Regions from separate parts of the Homo sapiens genome. Here all the other regions are linked to region 1. Evidence: promoter capture Hi-C in human tissues and cell types (Jung and others, 2019). All regions are on one chromosome and are shown on one strand. The core of a region is centred on a gene start or on the middle of the fragment in contact, and the rest is flanking DNA. Distances in the headings are between cores, read along the strand shown. Region 1 holds the start of SDK1 (sidekick cell adhesion molecule 1). Region 2 has its middle 380 kb from the start of FOXK1. Region 3 has its middle 260 kb from the start of FOXK1.

Region 1 (3,662 bases), core at 876-3,375:
CGTACAGGTCTTAGTGCAAAATGCAAGTCACTGTTTAAAAAAAGAAAACTTAATAAACACATTATTTTAAAGGTCATCCTAAGTGATTTAGATTTCTTCACTTGAACCTGGTTGCTCTAACAATCTACAGATCCCACTGTACAAAATGACTTAATAAATGCTTTTCTTCCAGAGTAAGTCATTAAGCAAAAAGCACAAATAAGTGAAATGAAAATTTTCCAAGTAATGGAGGAGTTAAATTAACCAGAAATATGGCAATTTGTTTTCATGTAGTAAAACATAAGAGGGAGCATTTATGAAAGCTGGAGGGGGGTGGAGGGGCACAATTTAGATAACGTTACATAAGCATCAATAAAAAAAAGTATGAGTTCGTTGTTAAGCTATTGGATGATAGTTTTGAGCTCAGACCTTTAAAATGTTACAACATTTAAGTCATGTTACTACACATAAATCATCTTCACAGGACACAGAACACAGCTAATTTAAGTTTAATGCTCTCATCTTCGCCAATCTCAGAATATCGAGTTCCTTACCATGATTGTTCGTTAGCTGTATCTTGGAATACAACTAAGTTAATTTTCCTAAAACTACCATCAGCAAAACCAGTTCACTAATGTGTTTTAAAGACGTTACCAAAGGACGTATTAAAATAGTTATTTCTGGGTTGAGGGGGGTGTTTTGGTTTAAAGACCAGCAAACTTCAAAAGAAAACGATGCTAGCTGGCAGGGGTACGTTACGGGTTTTGTCGGGGGCGGGGAGGGGGTGGAGGGAAGCCCAGATTTGGGAAGGAAAGCTCGTTTCACAAGAGATCCCATCTCTCGTTTCAAAAGGTCATTTCCATTCAGCAGATCCTCTTTCCCTATTTCAGAGCTCACCACTGTATTCTAAACAGAAGCCAATAGAGGGAGAAAAACAAAGCCAAGTGCAAAAGCTGTGGGCACTGAAAGTTTTGCTCCACCGGCCGCGCAGCACCCACTTGGGGTCGGGCTTTGGGACTTGGGGGAGTCAGGAGCAGGCGGGGGCTGGGGAGAGGACGAGGCCCTGGGGAGGGGCTGGAAAAGGCTTTTCACAGCGACTGGCACTTGATATTTCCAAGTCTTCTGGATGTCACTCACCGGAAACCAGACCCTGCGGTGCGAAGACTCAGGTACAGACCAGCCCCTTTTTCATCCATGCAATGGGAAGGGGACTCGGGCATCCTTTTAAGGAGCTGAGAAATGGGTCCTCAACTTAAAAATTTTTGTTTGTGCTACTGCGGTATAAAAAAAATAAAACGCAAAGTAGCAGACGGGGTGCAGGCTCTACGGGGCTCCGTTTCCCTCTCCTCCGAGTCTGGCGTGGAGGAGCCCCTGGGCTCCCTAGAGCCCCCAGCAAGGCGCATCCCGACCCGGGCCGGGAAGCGGGGGGACCCCGGACACACTCTCGCTGCTCAAGTTCGCGCCTCCGCGCCCCGAGGCGACGCCCCCGGCCCGCGACCCCGCGCGCACCTACCTTGCGCCAGCGCCCGGAGCAAGTGCAGCTGCAGCGCCAGCAGCGCCCACCAGCCGCGGCGGCCCGGCCCCAACTTTGCCGCCCGCCGCCCGCCGCACCGCCCCGCGCCCGCCGTGTCCCCGCCGGAGGTCTCGGGCGCCGCCCGGGGTCGCGAGGGCTCCGGGCCGGGGCGCGGCGCCAGCGAGGGGCGGGCGCGGCCGGGCGGGGATCCCCGCGGCCGCCCGGGGCCCGCGCGCTCAGGGGGCTCCGCGCCGCCGCCGCCGCCACCGGCCGCCGAGGGCCGGGCGCCCCGGGCCATGCCGAGCAGCCGCCACCCCGAGCGCCGCGCCGGACGGACGGGCGGGCAGGACAGGCGGGACGGCTCCGAGCGGGCGCGGCCACTCCGCGGGAGGCGCGGCGCCCCCCGGCCCGAGGTGAGCGGCCGCCCAGCGCTGAGGGGCGGCGTCCTGGGTCCCCGCGTGAGGGGCGCGGCGCGGGCCGGGGACGAGCCGGGCGAGAAGAAGTTGTCAACGGGGGAAATTCGCGTCCGGCGCTCACGCAGTCCCGAGCCCGCCGCGCTAGCTCCGAGGGGTCCGCCGGGCGCGGAGGAGCCGCCGCCGCCGCCGCCCCCGCCCGGCGCTGAGAAGAAAGTGCGCCCGCCCGCACGTCGCGGTCGCGCTCGCCCTCAGCTGCCGCGGCCGCCGCTCCCCATTCACAGCCCGGCCGCACGCGCCGCCCGCGCCCGCCGCCCGCCGCCCGCCGTTGATTGGCCGAGGGAGGCGGCGCCCGCTCCCAGGGCCCGCCCCCCAGGCCCTCGCTTGTTTTCAAAGTCGCGGCGCCCGCCCGCCTGCAATTTTGTGCCGGCCGCGGCGCCTGGCTCGGGCGGCTTCCCGCGCCGGCTGCGCCCCCTAGGGACCCGTAGTGGGGACTGCAGGCGGCGTCGATTCGGCACGCGCTCCCGTGGCGGGCTCGCGGGCGGGGGTGGTGCATCCTCGCCCGGCCCCGCAGCGGTGCGGGCGCCCGAGTGGGAAGGGCTCAGGTGCAGCAGGACGCGCAGATCGTGCGGCAGCCCAGGGCCGAGGGCGGAATAGGGCGCGCCCCGAGAGGCGCCCGGCTACCACCAGCTAGCTCAGTGCTTGGGGGTGACGCGCCAAGTTACCGTAATTGCAAACACGCGCAATCGGGTTTTTAATTTCTAGCAACCAAAGGCACCACTGGGTGCAAACTCGCCTCCTGTTCAGAGGAGTGGATATGGCATTGTAGAAGCGTCCAAGGTCACTTTTGGCCGGCGCTGGAGGAGGGCGGGGTAGGGAGGGACACATTGCAGGTTTCCCACCGTGGAGTGGGCGAGTCTTGGGGCAGGGTCGGCCAGTGGGAGGGTCTCCCAGGGCGGGACCCGGGAGCCTGTGGGGCTGGGGGTGGGGACGGGCGCCGACGCTCAGCATGTGGTAAGCATTAGCAGAGTTTATGGGGTGAACTAAGCGCACTGGAGGCTGAAAGGCCAGCATTTTTGTGGGAGGAGAGCTGGAGGTGACACGCACTGCCTCTGGAGTTGGCCCGGGAGGAGCCTGGGGACGTGTGATGATGGTCGCATGAGATCATGTAAGAGATGAACGCAGAGGGGCTGGGTGTGAGCCCAGCACGGGGCTGACTCCCCAGGAATCACCTGATGCAGTAGGTTTATTGTCCCAGCCAAGAAAGACCCCGGGCGAGTGGAGAGCAGGTCACAGGGCTGGGGTCTGGGATAGGAGCCAGCTCCTGCTCACAGAGCGCCTATGGTATTTGTCAAATAACTGATTGGTGGCTCAATATTAGCCTCTGTACACGTCCCCTAAGACTTAACAATGACCACGTGAACAAAACAGGGAAACTGAGGTCCAAGTACAGCCGCCGAACAGGAGGTGGTTTCAGAAAGAGGCCTCCCATCTGCCCCCTTTCCACACCATGCTAGGAGGGGCAAAAAAGTTAAAGGAGCCACGGAGTGCCCTGTTCTGAGGATATAGTGAGGGCGCATAGATGGGACGAGCCGGAAGAGGACAGCTCCCCAAGGACATGGGGATGAGACTGGAGGCAGAGAGGCATGTCTGTTTTTATCTTCTGTTGGTAGCAAGGCTGGGTTTCTTCAAACTTGCAAGATTATAATGAGAACCTGCTGGGCGGGGGGAAGCAATACCTCCTGTGCAGTGAGCAC
Region 2 (3,636 bases), core at 228-2,727, 1.0 Mb before region 1:
AGGACAATTCAGGTAATGAACAGAACTAGGTTCCAGTAATTCACTGAGGAAACTGCTTCCATCTGTTTAAAAGAACAAAGTCTTACCTTTGAGTCATTCTTATCCTTACACCAGCTTCCTGAGGCAGAAACGTACATCTCTGCAAAAAGATTTGTCCAAGTCCTTATCCGCCGCCTCACCCCTCACCCGTTTCCACACCACCGAAGGCTGCAACATCCTCATCGGTCCTGGGCTGCAGGGGAAATGCTGTGAAGTGCATCTGTATTCCAAAGCAAAATTATCCTATTCTTGAAGCTTCGTTGAACAGGATGTGTTTTGGAGATTGAATGTATGTAGATTTATTTACTTTCTAAAAGCAACACCCTGTACTTGGGGGCCGCCAAGCGAGACTGCCCAGGGAAGCATTTACAGCTGTTTTAATAGTTATTAAACCATGGGCAGAGGCGTTCCACACCCATCAGGTATCTGCAGAGACCGCGTAGGCAGAGAGGCCTGACGGTTCCCCATGGAGAGGGCCGCAGCGGGGGGCAGGGCTGGCTCCTTCCTGGTGCTGGGATTGTTTGCACAGAAGAGCAGAGACACAGTGGGTTGGAAGGGCCCAGGCAGGGCTGGGTGTGGTGGCTCACGCCTGTTAATCCCAGCACTTTGGGAGGCCGAGGCAGGCGGATCACTTAAGGTCAGGAGTACGAGACTAGCCTGACCAACATGATGAAACCCTGTCTCTGCTAAAAAATATAAAAAATAGCTGGGCGTGGTGGCAGGTGCCTGTAATCCCAGCTACTCAGGAGGCCGTGGCAGGAGAATTGCTTGAACCTGGGAGGCGGAGGCTGCAGTGAGCTGAGATTGTGCCACTGCACTCTAGCCTGAGTTACAGAGCGAGACTCTTGTCCCCCCTACCTCCCCCCCAAAAAAAAGTAGGGACCCAGGCTGGAGCCGGTGCCTGAACCTCTAGTCCCCTGGGAACCTCAGCCCTGGACAGGTGCACAGGATTCACAGTGACACAGACAGACCTGCCTGCATGCTGCCTGGCCTGGACCACAGGTGCACGGGACCAGGCAGTGAGCGAGGCCTCAGCTCACCATTTCTAACTCTAGTAAAATCTTCACATTTTTAAATACCTGTTCTAAATTCATCTGTGCTCTGGGCCTTGTAGCCTGTGCCAATAAAGTGCAGGGCCGGGAAAGGCACCTGGGGCTTGTCTCACTTCGTCGCATCAGCTATAAGAAGGAGAGAGAGAATCCTGGATGTTCATGGCTGGGCTTCAGAGCCACAACCCCACCTCCCCTCGGCTCCAATTCCCAGATGCCGTAAAGAGCCAGCTGCTCCAGGCCGGGCGCAGTGGCTCATGCCTGTAATTCCAGCACTTTGGGAGGCCGAGGCGGGTGGATCATGAGGTCAGGAGATCGAGACGATCCCGGCTAACATGGTGAAACCCTGTCTCTACTAAAAATACAAAAAATTAGCCGGGCTTGGTGGCGGGCACCTGTAGTCCCAGCTATTTGGGAGGCTGAGGCAGGAGAATGGCGTGAACCCGGGAGGCGGAGCTTGCAGTGAGCCGAGATCGCGCCACTGCACTCCAGCCTGGGCGGCAGAGCGAGACTCCGTCTCAAAAACAACAACAACAAAAAGAGCCAGCTGCTCCTCCGCTCACCCCTCCCCGATGGTCCCACTTGCTCCTCACATTCTTGCCAATGTTTTGCACCAGAAGGTCTCCCTGAAGTTTGAGGAGGGAAACGGCCGGAGCACAAGGATAACAGTTCAGCATTTTGCCCTGGACGCATCCACAGGTCACCAGCGCTGAGAAAGACACTTGGGTGTGTCAGTGCAGGTCTCCGGTGAAACCTCCGTTAGCCGGAATTGCTGAAACCAAGGGGCAGTCAGATTCATTAAAGAGAAATAAGGGCCGGGTGTGGTGGCTCACACCTGTAATCCCAGCACTTTGGGAGGCCAAGGCGGGAAGATCGTTTGAGCCCAGGTGTTTGGGTTCACAGTGAGATCCATTTCTACAAAACATGTAAAATAGCAAGGCACGGTGACACACACCTGTAGTCCCAGCTACTCGGGAGGCTGAGGTGGGAGGATCGCTTGAGCCCAAAAGTTGGAGGCTGCAGTGAGCTACGATGCTGCTACTGCACTCCAGCCTGGGTGACAGAGTGAGACCCTGTCCTTTTTTTTTTTTTTTTTAAAAAAAAAGGAGGAATGAGATGCCCTGATGAATAAGAAAAAGACTTTTCTTGTTACAAGAAAAAGACTTGCTTGAACAAGAAAAAGACTTTTATTTCATCCTTTTAAAAAGCATCAGGTTAGTGAAAACATGATGTTTTTTTTAAATGTTTGAAGTTTGAATTGAGTTTCTTGCTTCTTTTAAGTCTAGTCTCTGAAAATCAGTCTCTCTGGGACTTAAGGATGGTGTTTGTGTTTGCAATCCCCAAGCAGGAGAGGAAACTGGCCCAAATTCTAGAGGGAGGGTTATCGGTGCAATGTTGGTCAATGTGCAACAACCGGCTGGCCAAGAGAACAGGCACCCGTCTTTATGAGTGCCTGTGGGGTTAAAAACTCCTGCTGGGCCGGGCGTGGTGGCTCACGCCTGTAATCCCCGCACTTTGGGAGGCTGAGGTGGGCGGATCCCGAGGTCAGGAGATCGAGACCATCCTGGCTAACACAGTGAACCCCCATCTCTACTAAAAATACAAAAAATTAGCTGGACGAGATGGTGGGTGCCTGTAGTCCCAGCTACTTGGGAGGCTGAGGCAGGAGAATGGTGTGAACCCGGGAGGCGGAGCTTGCAGTGAGCCGAGATTGTGCCACTGCACTCCAGCCTGGGTGACAGAGCGAGACGCCGTCTCAAAAACAAAAACAAAAAACAAAAAACAAACAAACAAAAAAACAACTGCTGAGGTCAACTTGAAGCTACCACAGCCACAGACCTGAACATGAAGTTGGGACAAAATGTGCAGAATAGGCTCTCACGCGTAGCAGGTGCAGGCTCCAGCCCACAGCTAGGTGTGCTTCTCCCAGCTGCAGATCTTCGTCTTTTTAAATTTGTTTCTATTCCAGCTACAACTTTACTCTGCTATCATCTGGCTCCCTGTGCCTAAATGTCAAATGCAGATAGAAAATCTGGCCAAATTGGCTGGGTACTGTGGCTCACGCCTGTAATCCCAGCACTTTGGGAGGCCGAGGTGTGCAGATCACCTGAGGTCAGGAGTTTCAGACCAGCCTGACCAACATGGCAAAACCCCGTCTCTACTAAAAATACAAAAATTAGCCAGGCATGGCGGCAGGTGCCTGTAATCCCAGCTACTTGGGAGGCTGAGGCAGGAGAATCACTTGAACCTGGGAGGCGAAGGTTGCAGTGAGATCGTGCCATTGCACTCCAGCCTGGGTGACAAGAGCGAAACTCCATCTCAAAAAAAAAAAAAAAAAAAAAAAAAGACAGGAAAAGAAAGAAAATCTGGCCAAATTGAGGGTTTGAGTTCCTTGCTGGTTAATGAAAATTTCCGACAATACAGGCTCCGTCCTTTTCTTCAAGATGTTGTTCTTTTTTAATTGTATTACTTTTTTTTTGAGACAGAATCTCACTCTATTGCCCAGGCTGGAGTGCAGTGGTGTGATCATGGCTCACTGAAGCCTCCA
Region 3 (4,089 bases), core at 653-3,152, 1.1 Mb before region 1:
CATAGCAAGACCTCTACAACAGATTTAAAATATTAGCCAGATGTGGTTGTGTGCACCTGTAATCCCAGCTGCTTGGGAGGCTGAGGTGGGAGGATTGCTTGAGCCCAGGAATTTGAGGCTACAGTGAGCTATGATTGTGCCACTGCACTGCAGCATGGACAAAAGCATGAGACACCATCTCTGAAACAAACAAAAGCCAAAAAACAAAAACAAAAAGAAAGTAATTGAAATAGGCAACTTTTATATTATGTTTATTTTGCCACAAACAAACAAACAACGACAACAAAACAAAAAACAAACATAAGAAGACTCTGAAAGGGGGAGAGAAGAAGGCAGACTGGCCAGGGACTCCCAGACACAAAGAATGACATGGTGGGCTGGGCGTGGTGGCTCACGCCTGTAATCCCAGCACTTTGGGAGGCCGAGGCGGGTGGATCATGAGGTCAGCAGATCGAGACGATGCTGGCCAACATGGTGAAATCCCGTCTCTACTAAAATACAAAAAAATTAGCTGGGCGTGGAGGTGGCGGCCTGTAGTCCCAGCTACTCAGGAGGCTGAGGCAGGAGAATTGCTTGAACCCAGGAGGCAGAGGTTGCAGTGAGCCGAGATCTCCAGCCTGGCAACGGAGTGAGACTCTGTCTCCAAAAAAAAAAAAAAAAAAAAAAGAATGACTTGATGGTCAGTTCCCTACATTTTCTTCTTCTTTTTTTTTTTCTATTTCTGATTGGGTATCAGAGGGGCCAGCAACAGGAAATGCCAATAGCTACAGAATTTTTAAAGCCTGAATACAAGTCTGTTCTCTAGCCAGGGGACCAGGAAAGGAGAAGTCTGTCAAGACAGAAAACTTTCAGACAGTAATCACTCTACCCCAGCCCAATAACCACAGAACATAGTGTGTTCCCCTATGTCCACTCTGCCAGCAAGGCTTGAGTGGGGAGCCTAGACTCCCATCCTTACCAGGCTGTAATGACAGGACCCATATCCCACTGAATGATGTCAGCAAAGGCGTAGAGTGAAACCAGGACATTCGTCCCCACTGAGTAGCAACAACATGTCCCTCTTCCACCATGCTGGGTCAGTAGAAACCACGCAGGGGGCCTGGATCTTCATCTCCACCCAGGAGCAACAGGACACCCTCTCTTCCCCTTTCTTGCTGGGGTTTTAACCACATCAGACCAATCTGGTTCAACTTTGTGTGTGTGTGTGTGGAGATGGGGGTCTCATTATGTTGCCTAGGCTAGTCTTGAACTCCTGAACATAAGTGATCCTCCTGCCTCAACCTCAAAGTGCTGGGATTACAGGCATGCGCCACCATGCTGGCCCTGGTTCAACATCCATGTAACAAACTTGTGAGTTGTTTTTCAGTTGCCATGGGGCCCAAGGTTGAAGGTCACATAACCTGAGCATGCCCAGATGAACCAAGGGTGCAGCCACAAGGGTACCCTAAGTGGTTGGAAGGAGAAGCGTGGACTGGATTAAGAAGCAGACCCCAAGGCCGGGCACAGTGGTTCACGCCTGTAATCCCAGCACTTTGGGAGGCCAAAGCGGGTGGATCATGAGTTCTGGAGATCGAGACTATCCTGGCTAACATGGTGAAACCCCGTCTCTACTAAAAATACAAAAAATTAGCCAGGTGTGGTGGCGGGTGCCTGTAGTCCCAGCTACTAGGGAGGCTGAGGCAGGAGAATGGGGTGAACCTGGGACGCGGAGCTTGCAGTGAGCTGAGATCACGCCTATGCACTCCAGCCTGGGGGACAGAGCGAGACTCCAAGACTCCGTCCCAAAAAAAAAAAAAAAAGAAGCAGACACCACATGGCAGGATCAAGGATCCAATGAGATTGAGCCCTGGCATCACCCTCTGGCAGGATCCAATCAGATCACACCTCATTGCCCTATGCTTATAAAGCCCAACCCAGCCCCCAGCTCAGGGAGACAGATTGGAGCATTTCCTCCCATTCCTTGCTGGTCAACTCAAATAAAGCTTTTCTATTTTTTTTTTTCTTTGAGACGGAGTTTTGCTCTTGTACCTTAGGCTGGAGTGCAATGGCAGGACCTCAGCTCACTGCAACCTCCACCTCCCAGGTTCAAGCGATTCTCCTGTCTAAGTCTCCTGAGTAGCTAGGATTACAGGTGCCCACCACCACGCCCAGCTAATTTTGTATTTTTAGTAGAGACGGGGTTTCACCAGGTTGGCCAGGCTGGTCTCAAACTCCTGACCTCAGGTGATCCACCGCTTCGGCCTCCCAAAGTGCTGGGATTACAGGCGTGAGCCACTGTGCCCGGCCAGCTTTTCTCTTCTCAAAAGCTGGTGCCATGGTATTGGCCTCTGTGCACATTGGGCAGCAAGCACATCAATTGCTTGGTAATCGGCTGGTGTCAGAGGAGGCCTATTAGGAGTCAGAGCCTTCACTACTGCCCAGCGGTAATGAGGTCATCCCTCTGCTTGTCCATGGTGGCCACACAGGGAACAGTCATGGTGAACCTTTGCCCCTCTCAGCTAGAAAGGTGTTGTTAGAGGAGGTAAAGGGTCGGAAATAGACAGGCAAAGGAGCTCCTGGGAAAAAACGTCTTGGAGATGCTGCCCTTTGACAGTCAGAGAAAAAGATGAAGGCTGCACTGGCTACTTCCGGCCTTGTGGTTGGGCTCTTCCGGCTCCGACGGGGTTTATCGAGCCCTAGTCAGAGATAACCACGGTAGGGACTTCCCGTGCTGATGAGCATGCCCACTCCTCCAAAACCTTGCCCGAGGATATCCTGTTGCTCATTATGATAATAAAAAGCTCATCCTTGGGTGGAGACTTTGCATGCATATGAGACATGTGATGTGTGGACCAGCATGCACAACCACAGAGTGTGCAAACCCAAGGTGACTACCCAAAACATGATTGCAAGTGACGCCCCCTCCTGCCCCTGTAGGAAAAATCATGTAAGATTCTCTAAAGACAGTCCCCCAGCAGCCCGCTCTGTCTCATCTCTTTCAGAGTGCACCATCCCTTTAAGTAAATGCTGCTACTGCTATGTTTCCAGCCTGACCAGCCTGGAGCTGTTTTCCAGACGGGTCAGCCTGCTTCCCTCTTGGGGTGTGCTTGTATCTCCTTAATAAACCTTTTGAGGTTGGGTACAGTGCTTACGCCTATAATCCCAGCATAATGGGAGGCCAAGGTGGGCGGATCACTTGAGGTCAGGAGTTCAATACCAACCTGGCCAACATGGTGAAACCCTGTCTCTACCAAAAATACAAAACTTAGCCAGGCATGGTGGTGCATGCCTGTAATCCCAGCTACTCGGGAGGCTGAGGCAGGAGAATCACTTCAACCTGGGAGGTGGAGGCTGCGGTGAGATGAGATCACACCACTGCACTCCAGCCTGGGCAATTGAGCGAGACTCTGTCTCAAAACAAAAACAAAAGCAAGACCTTTGCTTGGATTACGAATTGTCTCTTGGCTGAATTCTTTCTCCCACATTAGGCAAGAACTGAGGATTCCTGCACTTCCCAGTGACAGTATCAGTAGAGCCCAGGGGTGATCCTGAACTCCCACCCTGCCCAGCAGTAGTGAGAAGTCCCTCCCCACGTAGTGCCAATGACAGCTGAGGCAGGGACGGGACTTCCACTCCCACCTGGTGGTAAGAGAGTGCTGCCCCCTTCACCCACCAGAGCTGTGTCAGAGGAGGCCTGCCCAAACATAAGATTTAAGTAAGAGCTACAGTCACCTGATACAATACTCAGAATGTCCAGGTTTCAAGATAAATCACTTGTCATGCCAAGAACCAGGAATATCTCAGCTTGAATGAGAAAAAGCAACCAAAAGACACCAATGCTGAGATAAAATAGATGTCAGAATGATCTCACCAGGATTGAAAAGCAGGCATCATAAAAATGCTTCAGTGAGAAATCATAAACATGCTCAAGCCAAAAGATAAAAGGGGAGGGCGTCTCAGCAGAGAAATGGATAATGTAAAGAAAAATATAATAATTAAAAGAAAAAAACTCAATGGATGGGCTCAAGAGCAGAATAAAGAAGACAGAGGGAAGAATCAGTGAACTTTAAGATAAAACAGTAGAAATGAACTACTCTGCAAACAGAGAAA

The links. The method cuts DNA at HindIII sites, captures the fragments that hold promoters and counts their contacts. A contact is called where the count stands out against the background at its distance.
Region 2: a contact is called between a fragment that was not itself captured here and the fragment with the promoter of SDK1 in region 1, in 1 of the 25 tissues and cell types used here (IMR-90 fibroblasts).
Region 3: a contact is called between a fragment that was not itself captured here and the fragment with the promoter of SDK1 in region 1, in 1 of the 25 tissues and cell types used here (dorsolateral prefrontal cortex).

The regions. Positions count from the first base shown.
Region 1 is chr7:3,299,715-3,303,376 of GRCh38, reverse strand. It overlaps SDK1 (sidekick cell adhesion molecule 1), which reads right to left and starts at 2,125. Exons shown (of 45, transcript NM_152744.4): 1 at 1,493-2,125. The coding sequence starts at 1,790. It overlaps SDK1-AS1 (SDK1 antisense RNA 1), which reads left to right. Exons shown (of 3, transcript XR_001744897.3): 1 at 1-1,148. RefSeq lists enhancers at 1,324-1,824, 2,534-3,045, 3,046-3,558 and a silencer at 2,099-2,648. The HindIII fragment of the contact is 11,292 bases long and covers 1-3,662 here.
Region 2 is chr7:4,300,019-4,303,654 of GRCh38, reverse strand. No RefSeq gene overlaps it. Among named protein-coding and RNA genes, the nearest start is that of FOXK1, 380 kb to the left of the region's middle. The HindIII fragment of the contact is 5,021 bases long and covers 1-3,636 here.
Region 3 is chr7:4,422,331-4,426,419 of GRCh38, reverse strand. No RefSeq gene overlaps it. Among named protein-coding and RNA genes, the nearest start is that of FOXK1, 260 kb to the left of the region's middle. The HindIII fragment of the contact is 7,016 bases long and covers 1-4,089 here.